2 separate regions of the Homo sapiens genome follow, and region 2 is linked to region 1. Evidence: promoter capture Hi-C in 16 types of primary human blood cells and fetal thymus (Javierre and others, 2016). All regions are on one chromosome and are shown on one strand. The core of a region is centred on a gene start or on the middle of the fragment in contact, and the rest is flanking DNA. Distances in the headings are between cores, read along the strand shown. Region 1 holds the start of BAZ2A (bromodomain adjacent to zinc finger domain 2A). Region 2 overlaps LOC124902945 (a long non-coding RNA gene).

Region 1 (7,077 bases), core at 3,987-6,486:
GAGTGGGACGCAGGATTGAGGTTGAGAGGATAGGAGGTTTTTGCCTTCGTGGCTTCCTGATTCCAAAGGCCCCACAGCCGTAGGGATGGAGCCCTGAGGAGCTGAAACACGGGGAACCAGTTCACCTAGTAGGGCGCTGCGCGTGACCCCCAGCAGGCTCGGCCTTGAGTTCCCTCTCCTGCACCCCTAGGCCTCCTAGGAGCCCATGTAGCTCTTTCTGCCTTCCCCGGCCTCTTTTGTGAAGCGGTCTTTGCTGGTGCCCTGGGAGCGCGGGCAGAGCTCTCCCAAGTCCTTCCTTTCGGACCTACCACCATCCCCCACTTCACCGCAGAAGTTTCTGTCTCTTTCTGGGATCCGTTCTCTTCCTCCCATCTGGGATCCTTCCTGGTTCTGGCCCCTAGGAGACGCCACCCGCTATCCTCTCCCCCAGTGGATCCTTCGCGACTGCTCTCCTGAGCGGTTGTCCTCACCTCGGTAGTTCCTGCCCCTTTAAGCACCACCTCCTCCCCTCCGCCGCCGCCGGCCCAGGGCTGGGGGAGGAGGCGCAGCCGCCGCCCGGCTCGGCCACCTGCGCCTCTGCCGCCGCCGCCGCCGCCTGCGGCCCGGCCCTGCTCCAGGTGAGGCCCGGCACCCACCTCCAGCTCCGGAGTCCCTTGGCGGGCCGTTCCTGCGGTATCCTGCCCCGGGATCCCTGCTGCCCCGGGATTCGGGATCTGACTCTCCCCCTGAGGGAGCTGCCCTTCCTCTCTCCCCTGAACTATCTACTCGCCCATTTTCCCCCTGTCCTCCGCGACCGGAATCCGGAGGCTTCTCACGCCTCTCCGCCATCGTCTCCCGAGTACCTTTCCTATTCTGGGCCCAGGATCTCCCCCTCCCCCGCGCCTTCTTCGCCAGAAAAATCTCCCGCGGTCTGGGTTTCGCCTCCTCCCCTCTGAACTAGCGCTTTCCCACGCCTTCCTAACCCCAATGGGAGGGGGGATACCCACCCCAACTCCTCTCCTTCCCCGTAGTAAGGGGGGCGGGGGAGCAACATCGACAGCACTATCTGTCCCTGCTCCGCTCAGCCCTTTAAGTTCAGCTAAGTCCCATCTAAACCTTTTCTGTAGTCCTCACCCCACCCTACATCTCCGGGAGCTTGGGGTCCAACCTCAGCACCGCCTACTGAGCCCAGGTGGGAAGGACTCTCCTCCTGGGCCTAGGGTTGGTCGGTGCAGCCTAGGAAGGCCCCTCCCCCAGAACCTGGGAGCTGGGGGCCAGGGCGCTGCCGGAATCTTGTGCTTCAGGGCCTCAGGGACAGTTGGGAGAGAGTGCGTGGGGAGCTGGGGCTAAATCTCTAAGGGAGTTGGGGCGATGGGGAAGGCAAGAGAAGTCCAGTCTTCTCTGTTCAGATGCAAAGGAAGCCCCCCGACTCCCTAGGAAATAGGGGCTTTCTCTAACTTCCAGGACCACCATAGAGAATCCCATTGGGAAGTTTGGAAACAAGTCTGTGTGAATCTGAGGAGCCACCTGTCGACTTAAAGGGGAGAAGGGGGCCGGGTGGAGTGTGCTCGCCTGTAATCCCAGTACTTTGGGAGGCCAAGGTGGGCAGATCACTTGAGGTCAGGAGTTCGAAACCAGCTTGGGCAACATGGCAAAACCTTGTCTCTACAAAATATACAAAAATTAGCCAGTCGTGGTGGCGTGTGCCTGTAATCCCAGCTACTATCGCTTGAACCTGGCAGGCTGGAACCTGGCAGGCGTAGGTTGCAGCGAGCTGAGATCACAACACTGCATTCTGGCCTGGGTGACAGAGCAAGACTGTCTCAAAACAAAACAAAACAAACAAACAAACAAAAGTGGGGGAAGAAGGGGAGGGGTGTTTTCCTTGTGATGTGTTATGGGAGAATCTAGCCTTCCCAGATTGTAGAGGGGGTGAAGACTTTTGCTTTAACCTGGTGGGGGGGTCTAGTTGGAATGGTTACCCGGCTAAGAGCCATCTCCCTGCTAGACAGATCCTGTTAACAGTATGATCCATTCAGCCAGTGAGGGGAAGGCAGGTCTTTAATAATTATCCCACCTCCATTAGAGAATTCCCCCTCCACCCCCAGTCCAGCTGCGCCCCTAGCTATGCTCTTTCATTTCCCACTCCTCACTTCCAGAATTAGGGGACTGGCTGCCAAGATCTGCTTCAGACTCTTCTAAGTCATGTTTGGAGGGGGTGCTGGGGGGAGGAGAGGGTGTTCAGCAGTGGTGTTTGGGGTTGGATGCCAGGAGTATCTGGTGGGGGAGAGGGAAGGATGTAGAGGGATGCAAACGAATCCCCTTCTCTCTCTTCCTCCTCCCAGCCCTAGCCATCTGGCTACAGAGTGGAGCCAGGCACTGTGGCAGCTGACCCCAGAGTCAGGGAGGTGCTGCAGGAACACAGGGAGGGTGAGAAAGGGGGTGCAGGTGCTAATTTGTCCCTCCCCATTCTCTTCATGACTAGTCCACTGGCCTGGCTTGAGGGAGGTTCAGCCTATTCCCTGGAGACTCTCCTTACAAGTTGCTGATAAAATGACCATTTGCCCCTTCCCCTTTCTAGTAGCTTCCTGAAGGGAAATGGGTGGGGAAAAGAGAGGTGGGTGGGTGATCAGCCACATCTGATGGGATTGAGGAGTGTTTCGGGACATTTGGGGTCAGTCTGCCCTCTCTCGTCTGGATGGGGGGAGAAGCACAGCTGCAGCATGGGGTGACTTCTAGCAAGAAGTAAACATCCAGCTGTTGGGCACACTGTCACCCCAACCTCATCCTTCCTCAGAGCAAGGAAGATCCTGATTAGATGAGATGAGGTGGGGTCTCATTCAGGAATGAGGATGATTGTAGTCTTTCTGCACCAGATGGGAAGAATGGATCCTACCTCATTTTCTTTTCTAATCCCAAGTGGTCCTCTCCTATCCAACACCCCTCTTCCTAACCGCTCCTGGCTGGAATAGTCCTAAAGGTTGCCCTGGAGACTAGGCCTGGGGCTCGGAAGGGGTGGGGGCGGTCAGTGGGGCACAGGAGTAACCGGCTCTTCCGGAGCAGAGTGGAGCCAGTGGTGGGTGTGTGTGGGTGTGGGGAGGGGCGTGGCTACACCCGTCTGACGGGCGCAGGCTCCTCCCCTGCCTGCCCAGTCCCCGACTGGCCCCCTTTAAGATTGGGAGCAGGAGGTAGGAAGATTCTCCCTCATCTGCTCTGGAAAAGGGCAGGGAAGACAAAAGGATACCAGCTTCCTTACCCACACCCCCATCCCGCCGCCCTTGAGGCCTCAGTTTTATGCCTTTCTTCACCTGCCTTAATTTTTTATTTGGGGATAGAGAGGCATTTCTTAGCAGAAGTTTGCCAGAGCCCTCCTTTCTCCAGAAGGAAGGAAACCTCTACCCTGAGTGTGACCTCTACTTACTCAGGGACTTGAGGTCAGCAGGCTGTTGGAGGAGTATTTTTTTTTCCCCAAGGTGACCTGTAAATCTGTTGTTTTGACAGGGAGGAGAGAAGGGTTTTGGTTTCCACCTGCCTATTCCCTCCACTGGTAATCTACTTATCTCGAGAGAGGAAGAGAAACCCCCTTAGCCTTCTGTGTCTGTGGCCCACACACTCTGTGAGCCTTTGCTAAAGCTAGCTTCCTTCTTATCCTCTCTGAGCCATTTGTAGTGGGGGGGTGGAGGGGTGGAGTCTTTCCCCAAAATTCAGGAAGAGCCCACCCCTCTGTGGAGTAAGGAAATCCAATGTAGACTGATGGATCTCACCCCCCAACTCTGCCCATTTTTCAGATCTCTTTCCTCCTCAGACCCCCAGAGGAAAACGTATTTGTTGACACCCCAACTTGCCAGAGTTTCATCATCCCCACTCTGTTGCTTTTCCAGAATATTCAGCAGCCTGAGCTTTGCACAGTTTAGGCAACTGTTTCTAGAACTGCATTGCATTGAATTAAATGGGAATTATCTTCAAGGCTGCAAAGTGTTGAGTTGCAAGGAAAGGAAACCTGGTTTCCTTTCTTGTCATATTTTATCCACTGTTTGACATTGAAGAAGTCATTGAACCTCTTTGGGTCTTAATTTCTTCATTTGATGAAGGAGAGAAGGTTGAACTAGAATTTTTTTTTTTTTTTTTTTTTGAGATAGAGTCTCCCTCTGTCACCCAGGCTGGAGTGCAATGGCGCGATCTCAGTTCACTGCAACCTCCACCTCCCAGGTTCAAGCGATTCTCTTGCCTCGGCCTCCTGAGTAGCTGAGATTACAGGGGCACGCCACCACACCCAGCTAATTTTTGTATTTTTAGTAGAGACCGGGTTTCATCATGTTGGTCAGGCTGGTCTTGAACTCCTGACATCATGATCCACCTGCCTCGGCCTCCCAAAGTGCTGGGATTACAGCCGTGAGCCACCGCGTCCGGCCTGAACTAGAAATTCTCTAAGCTCTAACATCATATGACACTGTTCTTCATCCTGGTGCCCTGCAGTGGACATTTTAGGTGACAGCCAAACTCTAGTCCTCTGCTAGATTTTACTTTTCTGAGTTTTCACACAGTTATGTAGCCCTGTCAGAAAAAAATTCCCAGAACCATAGAATGGGTGGACATTTGTGGCATCTTTTTGCTGATTAGTTTTCAGCTTATCCTTTACTTCTCTGACTGCATTTAGGCTACACTCAGGTCTTTGCTGTCTGGTTCCAGAGCCGAACCTTCTTTCCCCCACGCACAGGAATCTTTCCTTTCCGGTGACCAGGGCCCTGCAGATGTCGCCAGGAAAGTGGTGATCCAGGCAGGACCAGGCTGCACTGAAGGGACAGAGGTGAGTGGGTGGCTGACTCTTGCCTCTCCCCATCCCTTTACTGAATCGCGACCTGAGTGACTAACCTTTCTATTTCCACGTTTCCATTACCCTACCTGGGAAATAACTGCCCCCGAAATTCCCCTGACTCTTACCCCTACCAGCCTGTTAGAGAAGTGGCACCTGCCTTTGGGCCTAGACGTTTGGTCTAGTCTTTTAAGTTAACCTTGGGACTGTGGCATGCCTTTCAGTTTGCCCTGTGTGAAGCAGGACCACTGCCTCCATGAGATGCGGGTGCAGAGGGAGCTGCCAGGTGGGCAAGGTGGCCAGAGTTGCAGGAGGCACAGCGGCGCTAGGACCCAGGTCCGGGTCGGAAAGATGGGCTGGCGGGCTTTAGGACCCTGTGGCGGAGGCCGCGTGGGGAGACTCTCTCCCGGCCGAGGCTTCTCCGCCCCCTCCGGCTCCGACTCACTCCTCCCCCGCCGGCCATGTTGGCTCCTCTCGGGCCCCGCGGTTGAGCCGCGTCCCCCTCCCCCTTCCCGAACCCCGGACCCCAGACCCCCTCCCCAGCGGGCGTCTCCACCCGTTCTGGCGCCCGGAGCGCGGCCATGTGAACCGCTTGTACCCCGGGGAGAGACGAGCCCCGAGCCCGGCTGGACGCCGCTGCCTCAGGTTTGTGGGGTCTGTGGCCAGGGGCCTGAGGGGGAGGGAGCCCCGCTTTCATCCGAGGCTTCCCTCGGGGAACAGAAGCTCCAGAGCCGGCTTGAGCCTTGCCGGGGCGGGAAGCCGACGGGAGCTTATTTCCTGCGAGGATCCAACCCGAGGCGAGGGTCTCCTTGCTCTGGGGTCTGGGAGGAGAACAGGGCTGGTGGGGCTGCTGAGGACCCCGGACGGGGCCGCGGGGGCAGGAGGAGCTGTAGGGGCTCCCGGCGACAGTGAGGAGGCGGAGAAGCCGCCTGGCTGGTGGAGATGACTCCTGTGGGGGACTTGGGGTGGAATCCCCGGGAGGGGCTCCACCTCCTCGGGTGGGGGTGGGGATTGCCTGAGCGCGAGGGGTGGGTGAGGGGGTTCCCTTGGCGGGTTAAAACGCTCCGTTTGCGGGGAGCTGGGCGTTTTGACTGTGGTGAGTGGAGGGCGGAAGGGGTTTCCAGGGGTCTGAGGGTGTCTCCCTCGGGGAGCGCACCCATTCTCTTGAGCGTGAAGATCAGGAGAGGGCCTTCCTTGCTGAGGGTGGTGCTGCGCTTGGCTTGGGGCCCTCGCGTCCCGGGAGAATCGCGCACTCCGGGGATGGAGGTTGATAGGGCTTCCGCTGAGGCTTTCCAATTTGAGCTGGGCTGAGGGGCAGAAGGGAAGAATAAAGAGGAATTCCTTTTTCCAAGGAGATTCCTCACTGAGGGGATCCCCGCTTCCGTGGCAGAAAGATGATACCGCATCATCCCTTTCTTTCCCGGTGTTCCCAGTTTTCAGGAGAAGGCAATGTCAATAGCAGTTGTCCTTTGTAGGGTTAATTGGAGTGAGAGATTTGTCTGCTTTGGGGGACGACGGAGGGGATAGCTTTCCACCTCTATCTGTACACAAACAGCCCCTCCCCCAGCCTCCCGCAGGAAGTGGCCGGGAAATGGCAGCTGTGCGTTTGCTGCTGCGTGTCTTGTTGTTTTGAAATGTCCATTTTAATCAGATTTGGTTTCATTTTCTGAAGCCTTCTGGGCAAGCTTGGATCTTGCCAACCATGTGGCCCGAGAGACCTTTCGTTGGACTTTTTTTTTTTTTGTAAACTTGTCAACTGGAAGTAGTCAACTTCAGTTGACTCACGTATCCCAATCCCTTCTCCAGAACATCTCTGTCTTCCTGTCTGGTTTCGTTTTGTTTTCCCTTTAGCTAGAGGTCATAGAGAAGCAAACTCAGTTATCTACCAGCGGGGTACGCTCTATGTAAGTGATGCAAATTCCCTCAGCATAGAGAGCTGTCAGGGAGACTAGAGAGCTTTTGTGGCACGAGTAGCTTCTTGGGGTCCTACTTTAGTATAGTTATTATGACAGTTTCTATATTGCAGAGCACCTGAGCAAGTGAGCTTGTGAAGAAGGGTAGATTCTAAGAAATGGACGAAGAGGAAGGGGTGAGGAAGATTTAACTATTAGATGGATTTGTGTGTCGGGGGTAGGGACTGATTAACAGACTGAGATTGGTGAACTCAGTCCTTGGTGGTGATTCTAGCCTAAGGGCAGCCCCTGTGGGAAGCTTGTTATTTGACTAAGGGGTGCTGGAGATACTACCTTCTGCAGAATCAACTAATTAGAATAGTACAGTTTGTT
Region 2 (6,824 bases), core at 3,276-5,775, 360 kb before region 1:
CCCGCAAAGAAAACCCCATAACCATTAAGCAGTCAATCCTATTCCCCCCACCACCAACCTTCTGCTTCCTGTCCCTGTGGATTTACCTATTCTGGATACTTAATAGAAAGGGAACCATATCATATGTGACATTCAGTGTCTGTGTTTTTTTTTTTCCACTTAGCATGTTTTCAAGGTTCATTCACTTTGGAGCATGCATCCGTACTTCATTTCCTTTCATGGCTGAGTAATATTCCCATATATATATATATATATATACACACACACACACCACATTTTCTTTATCCACTCAAAGAGAACATTTTTTAAAAGTTTGCTCACTGATTCTTTTATTATGGTAAAATATATGTAAGGTTTACCACGTTAACCATTTTTAAGTGTACAATTCAGTGGCGCTAAGTGCATTTACACTGCTGTGCAACCATCAGCACCATTTATCTCCATGGAAGGGAATATTTTTCATTTTGTAGTTTTGTAGTTTTCTTAAACCTTCCACTTACATATCAGATCACTCCAAGATCACAAAATCTATCATGGCCGGTGCAGTAGCTCACACCAGTAATCCCAGCATTTTGGGAGGCCGAAGTGGGAAGACTGCTTGAGCCCAGGAGTTTGAGACCAGCCTGGGCAACAAGATGAGACCCCCATCTCTACAAAAAATAAAATAGCCAGTTGTGGTGGTACAGTCTGTATTTGGGAGGCCGAGGTGGGAGGATCGCTTGAGACTAGGAATTCAAGGCTGCAGTGAGCCATGATCACCCTGCTGCACTGAAGCCTGGGTGATGGGATCTAGAGAGCTAGATCCCATCTCCTAAAAAAAAAAAAAAAAAAAAAAAATAATGGGCTAGGCTAGGTGGCTCATGCTTGTAATCTTGGCACTTTGGGAGGCTGAGACAGGTGTATCACCTGAGGTCAGGAATTCGAGACCAGCCTGGCCAACATGGTAAAACCTTGTCTCTACTAAAAATGCAAAAATTCCAGGCGTGGTGGTGCATGCCTGTAATCCCAGCTACACAGTAGGCTTAGGCAGGAGAATCTCTTGAACCCAGGAGGCGGAGGTTGCAGTGAGCTGAGATCACGCCACTGCACTCCAGCCTGGGCCGTGGAGTGAGACTCTGTCTCAAAAAAACAAAACAAAACAAAAACAAAAAACCATCATGATGAACCATGACAGTGTGAAATGTGGCTTACTTCGATTTTTCAGTTAGTTTTGCTCTTATTCTCTCCCTTTAGGGTCTTAGTTTCTATCCCATTGATATTTTTCTTCAGTAAGGAGCCTTCTGAGAATTTCCCCTTCCCACTACATGCTTTTGACCCATGCAAATGAAGCCTGTCCTAGATCAAGCACCCTCCAAGGAAGGCCCTGGTCTGGTCTTTGTCCTCTCCAGATGGCCACATCTGTGACCACTTCCGTTCCTCACAAGACTGCCCTTTAGTGGCTCCTGTCTCCTGGGTCTCTGAATTGTCCTTCCCATATGGAGACATCCCCCCTGCAGCCTCACCTCTACCTGCTGCCTTCTCCCACCTATTCCTGTCACCCAATGTGTATTTGTAGAAAGAGGAAGTGATGGTGGTTCCTTCTGGCAGAGGCTCAGAGGGAAAGCTCCTCCCTCAGGAAGAAATAAGTGATAGCTCTGCAGTTTTCATGTGGGGCTTTTTAGGGGGTGGGGTGCAGCTGGAAAGAGAGAGACTGGGAGGAAGAGAAAGAGGGAGGAGCAGGAGGCCAGGCTCCTCGCCAACCTGGGCAAAAGGAGCAGGCCAGCAGCTTTGCCCTATGCAGCAGAAACAGCAGCAGTGAAACAATTCCTGGAAATTTACTCTTTTTCCTCCCCGCCCCACTTTTTTTCCCCAAAAAAGTGTAGACAAGATTTTGCGATCAACAATCAGAAAGGAAGGAAGGTACCAGGGAGGAGGTATTGGGAGGCAGAGATAAAGGCAGACGACTTTCCAGGGTCAGGTTAGGCAAAGGGCTGTGCTTGGACCCTGGCAGAAGGGGTGAGGCAGGCTGTCCCAGGGATCAACCCACGTGCCTGGCTTATGGGGTGGAGGCAGGTGCTTTGTGGACAGGTTAAGGCTGAGGGATTTGGCAGTAATTGCACTCGCGTCCACAGTGTGAACTTCCAGAAGGCCACTGAGTCAGGAAGCCAAGTCTAGTCGTGGAGGTTGTTCTGCCCTCCTGCCACCAGCTTCCCCAAGCTAGAGAGGAATCTGGTTTGCCCAGAAGTACCAGATTAGGAGCTTTCCAGGCTCCTCAAAGCCTGTGCCCCACTACCCTGTCCTTGGCTCTCTCTGCTCAGTTCTTCCCTCTTCACCGGCCCTTCACGAGACACTGTGGAGATAACACCAGTTTTTGAGTCAGACCTGTTTTTGACACTTTTTTCCACCACTTGGTAGCTGTGTGATCTTGGGCAGGTCACTTAACCTTTCTGAATCTCAGTTTCTTTTCTTTTGTTTTTTGTTTTTAAATATTTATTTGTACAGATTGATGTGGTACATGTGCAGTTTTGTTACATGAATAGGTTGCATGTTGGTCAAGCCAGGGCTTTTAGGGTATCCACCACAAGCATAACATGCATTGTACCCATTGACTAATTTCTCATCATCCACTCCTCTCCCATTCCCTCTTCCTTCCAAGTTTTCACTGTTTACCATTTCACTCTCCACATCCATGTGTACACATCTTTTAGCACTCACATTATGAGTGAGAACATGCAATATTTGATTTTCTGTGCCTCGATTGTTTTACTTAAAATAATGATCTCCAGTTCCATCCACATTGCTGCAAAAGACATAATTTCATTCCTTTTTATGGCCAAATAGTATTCCATTGTGTATATATACCACATTTTCTTTATCCTTTTATTCGTTGATGGACACTTAGGTTGATTCCATGTCTTTGCTATTGTGAATAGGGCTGTGATAAACATACTAGTGCAGGTGTCTTTTTAATGTACTGATTTCTTCCCCTTTGAGTAAATACCCAGTAGTGGGATTGCTGGGTCGAATGGCAGTTCTACTTTTAGTTTTTTGAAAAATCTGCATACTGTTTTCCATAGAAGTTGTACTAGTTCACATTCCCACCAGCAATGTCTAAGAGTTCTCTGTGCTCCACATTCTTGCCAACATCTGTTTTTTTTTTTATCTTTTTAATAATAGCCATTCTGACTGGGGTACGATGATATCGCGTCATGGTTTTTATTTGCATTCCTCTGATGATTAGTGATGTTGAGCATTTTTTCATATATCTGTTGGCCATTTGAAAAATGTCTTTTGAAAAATGTCTTCTTTTGAAAAATGTCTATTCATGTCATTTGCCCACATTTTAGTGGGATTATTTGTGGGGTTTTTTTTTTTCTTGCTCGAGTTCTTTGTATATTTTGGATATCTCCCCTGTCAGATGAATAGTTTACAAATATTTTCTCCAGTTCTGCGGGTTGTTCATTCTGTTGCTTATTTCTTTTGTTGTGCAGAGCTTTTTAGTTTAGTTAAGTCCCAGTTGTTTATTTTTGTTTTTGTTGCCTGTGCTTCTGAGATCTTAGTCATAAATTCTTTGCCTAGTCCAATGTCCAGGAGACTTTTCCTTATACTAGATAGTAGATTTTTCCTGCAATACTAGATTTTCTTCTAATAATTTAATAATAGTTTTGGGTCTTATATGTAAGTCTTTAATCCATCTTGAGTTGATTTTTGTGTCTGGTGAGAGATAGGAGTTTAATGTCAGTTTCTTAATATGTAAAGTGAGGATAATGATGCTTCCCTTACAGGTTATTATATGGGATACATGAGATAATATATACAAGCATGCTCCTTTTCCACTTCATGGGGATAAGGAAAAAGGAATCCCATCTTGTGGAATTGACACTGAGAGACCTCTCTAGTCCTATTACCACCAGCCATTTTTTTCCTCTCTGAATTAGATCAACATGAGCCTCCTCTTTTATTTGGCTGTCTTGGGTTGTGTTTTTTACATAGAAGGGTGGGAACATTCCCAAATGTCACTATGAATTACCACAGAGAAATGTAGTAATAGTAACAGCTGATGTTTATTGAATACGCACCATTGGCTAGACACAGTTGTAAGGGGCTTTATCCATATCACCTCATTTAATCCTCATAACAACTTCATGGAGTGGGTACTACCATCGACAAGGAAACTGAAGCACAGAAACTTTAAATAACTTGCCCCAGTCACACAGCTAGTAGGTCAATAAGCCCATATTACAAGGATTCTTGAGCTGGATTCCATGCAGCTAATGGTTTTAGGTGTGAACTGTATGAAAAGTATAAGCAAGTTTTTGATTGTTGTGTTATGTGGGGGGCTTATAACCTTCCTTAGATTCTCGAAGGGGCCCATGATGTCCAAAAGCTTTAAAAAAAAATGACCCTTGGAGAGCTTCTGCTAGACTGGGGTCAGGATAAAAACAGCAATGTTGGGTATCCACTTGTGTGGAGCTGACTCAGCCCTGGGAATTCTAGGAAATTTCTTGCATGAGGAAGGAGGTGTCTCCTTCATGAAGGCTGAGGGATTTGTAGGATGATCTCGGAGGGATTTGAAAAGGGGAAAGTGAATGTCTTTGCTTCCCATTCCCTATCTTTCACTAGATGAAGGACAACTGTTTCCTCTGTGATTTCCCAAGTGTGAGAAGGGAGGGTGTGACATCAGTCTAAGGAAGAGGAAGCTTGAAAAGACTGATAAGAGACTGGAAGGGCCCCAGGTACTATTAATATCCCTCTGCCGCCTACAGCACTAGCAGCCTCCCCGCATGCCGCCACCCTTCCCCCTTCCTTTGGTCTCCTATCTCTCCCAGCTTCTGTTTCTCCCTCACTCTCCCATCTCCTGATCTGCACCCCTCCCCCAGCCTCTCTGTAGATGTGGTAAGTCTCTTGTTGGTTCCAGATTTCTTCCGTTTCTGTTAACTTTTGTTGAGCACCTAATGTATGCTGGTCAGAAATTCTCCAGTGCTTCCCAAGACCCCATCTTTCTAAGTTTTCACCATTTTAATAAAGGCATATGGATTCTTAGACTCCCTGAAATTGGAGATGGGAGGACTTGACAAAGTCATCTTGATTCTCCTCCCTCGTTATAAAGATGAGAAAAATGGAGGCTTTAGGAAATCTCATATTGTCGCATGATGTAAGAAATAGTGATGAAAATGGAAAGCGAAGCCAGATGTTGCAGTGTCAGCTACCTCAACATTCCTTCATCTCTGCTAGAAGCTAGCACTGCCGGGGCTGGAAATACAAAAATGACTGGACTCAGTCTCGGAGCCCTCAAGGGGCTCCGAGTCTGTCAAACCTCTAGTATGCAGCACACTCAAGGCACCATCCATGTTGCTTAATTAACAGTAGTCCAGTCTCTTACCAGCCAGCAGTCTTGCTGTTTCCCTCCTTCTTGGAGGATCCGTGCAGGGAGATATGGGGGCTCCCCGATGCTGGAGAGAGTGGCCATTGGGATGAGCTGAAGAGCCTTGGCTGATCCCAGGCCGATGCCCACGTCGTGACTGCAGGGCTAGAGAAGAACCACCAGGGGGCGCGCGGCTCTTTGCTAGCCTCTGGTTTCTGCAGGAAACCTCTCCTTCCCCCTCCCAGTCCATCTCCACTTCTTCCTTCAATTAGGGGACAGAAATTGGGCAAACATGGACAGTGGGAGAGAGGCCCAGTGCAAATAAACCCTGGATTATTCTGTCCCACACCTACTCCCCCAGCTCCCTGCCCCTCTACATCCTGCCCACCAGTTATGAAATAGTTTCCTCGACCTCACACCGAGGGACCCTCCATGGACAGCAGAGGTCCAGTCTGTACCCCTTTCTGTAGTCTCCTGAGAAGGAGATCCCTCCTGTCCATCAACACCCTGATACAAACTGAAGTAATACCTTTACAGTTACTAGGGTTCATATCCTTCCCTGCTTGGGCAAGGTTTTGGACCACCATCCTCATTGTCCTTGTTCAAATGAGCAATGTTTTTAGCCTCTCAGTGTCTGAGGGGTCCAGATCCTGGATGTGGGCCCTGACAGGGGAGGGCAGAGGGCAGTGGAGCCAGCACCCAGGGCATATCAGGAGGTGAGCAGGTGAGCCCTGTGACACCTGCATAAGTCATTCCATTCCCCTTCCCAGCAGCCCTGGGTACTTCCTTCCTGTGGGTTCCAAGGCTCCATTCCCTTCTTTCCCCTTTCTTTACCTGTGAGGTTGGACTCTCCCTGTGGGTGTTCCACATCTTTCTGCCCCAGAAAACTACTGTAGCAGGAGGGGACTTGCTCTTGTTCACTTTTTTGCCTTCTCCTTCTCATCCTAGAGAGCCTGATCGTGCCCTACTTTTCTGGGGAGTGATTGATTCTGGATGCTGGGTGGGATGAGGAAACTCAGGCTCAGAGCAGGATTTCCACTGAATGTGCCTGGAAACCATGTGTAGCTTCCCAGTAAAGTCTGTTTTCTGGGAGACCATGGTCCAGGAGTGTTGGTATACAATGTGTGTTAGGCCGTTCTTGTGTTGCTATAATAAATACCTGAGACTGGGTAATTTATAAAGAAAACAGGTTTAATTGGCTCATGGTTCTGCAGGCTGTACAAGCATGCATCTGCTTGGCTCCTGGTGAGGCATCAGGAAGCTTATAATCACTGCAGAAGTCAAAGGGGGAGCTGATTTGTCACATGGCAAGTGGGAGCAAGAAAGAGAGAGCTGGGGAGGTGCCACACTTTTAAACAACCAGATCCCATCACAACTCATTCCAGTGTCTCCAGGACAGCACCAAGCCATGAGGGATCCACTACCATGACCCAACACCTCCCACCAGCTCCTGCCTCCAATATTGGGGAACGCATTTCAA

The links. The method cuts DNA at HindIII sites, captures the fragments that hold promoters and counts their contacts. A CHiCAGO score of 5 or more calls a contact.
Region 2: a fragment that was not itself captured here is called in contact with the fragment with the promoter of BAZ2A in region 1 in 2 of 17 cell types (megakaryocytes and endothelial precursors); the score reaches 11.2 in megakaryocytes.

The regions. Positions count from the first base shown.
Region 1 is chr12:56,628,485-56,635,561 of GRCh38, reverse strand. BAZ2A (bromodomain adjacent to zinc finger domain 2A) reads left to right here and starts at 5,236. Exons shown (of 29, transcript NM_001300905.2): 1 at 5,236-5,437. RefSeq lists enhancers at 1-220, 105-424, 1,055-1,104, 4,930-4,999, 5,030-5,079 and 1 more and silencers at 475-704, 5,300-5,649. The HindIII fragment of the contact is 7,835 bases long and covers 1-6,479 here.
Region 2 is chr12:56,986,413-56,993,236 of GRCh38, reverse strand. The region is part of intron 2 of LOC124902945 (a long non-coding RNA gene); the gene reads left to right. Among named protein-coding and RNA genes, the nearest start is that of ACKR5, 4.7 kb to the left of the region's middle. RefSeq lists a cis regulatory region at 1,269-2,083. The HindIII fragment of the contact is 313 bases long and covers 4,369-4,681 here.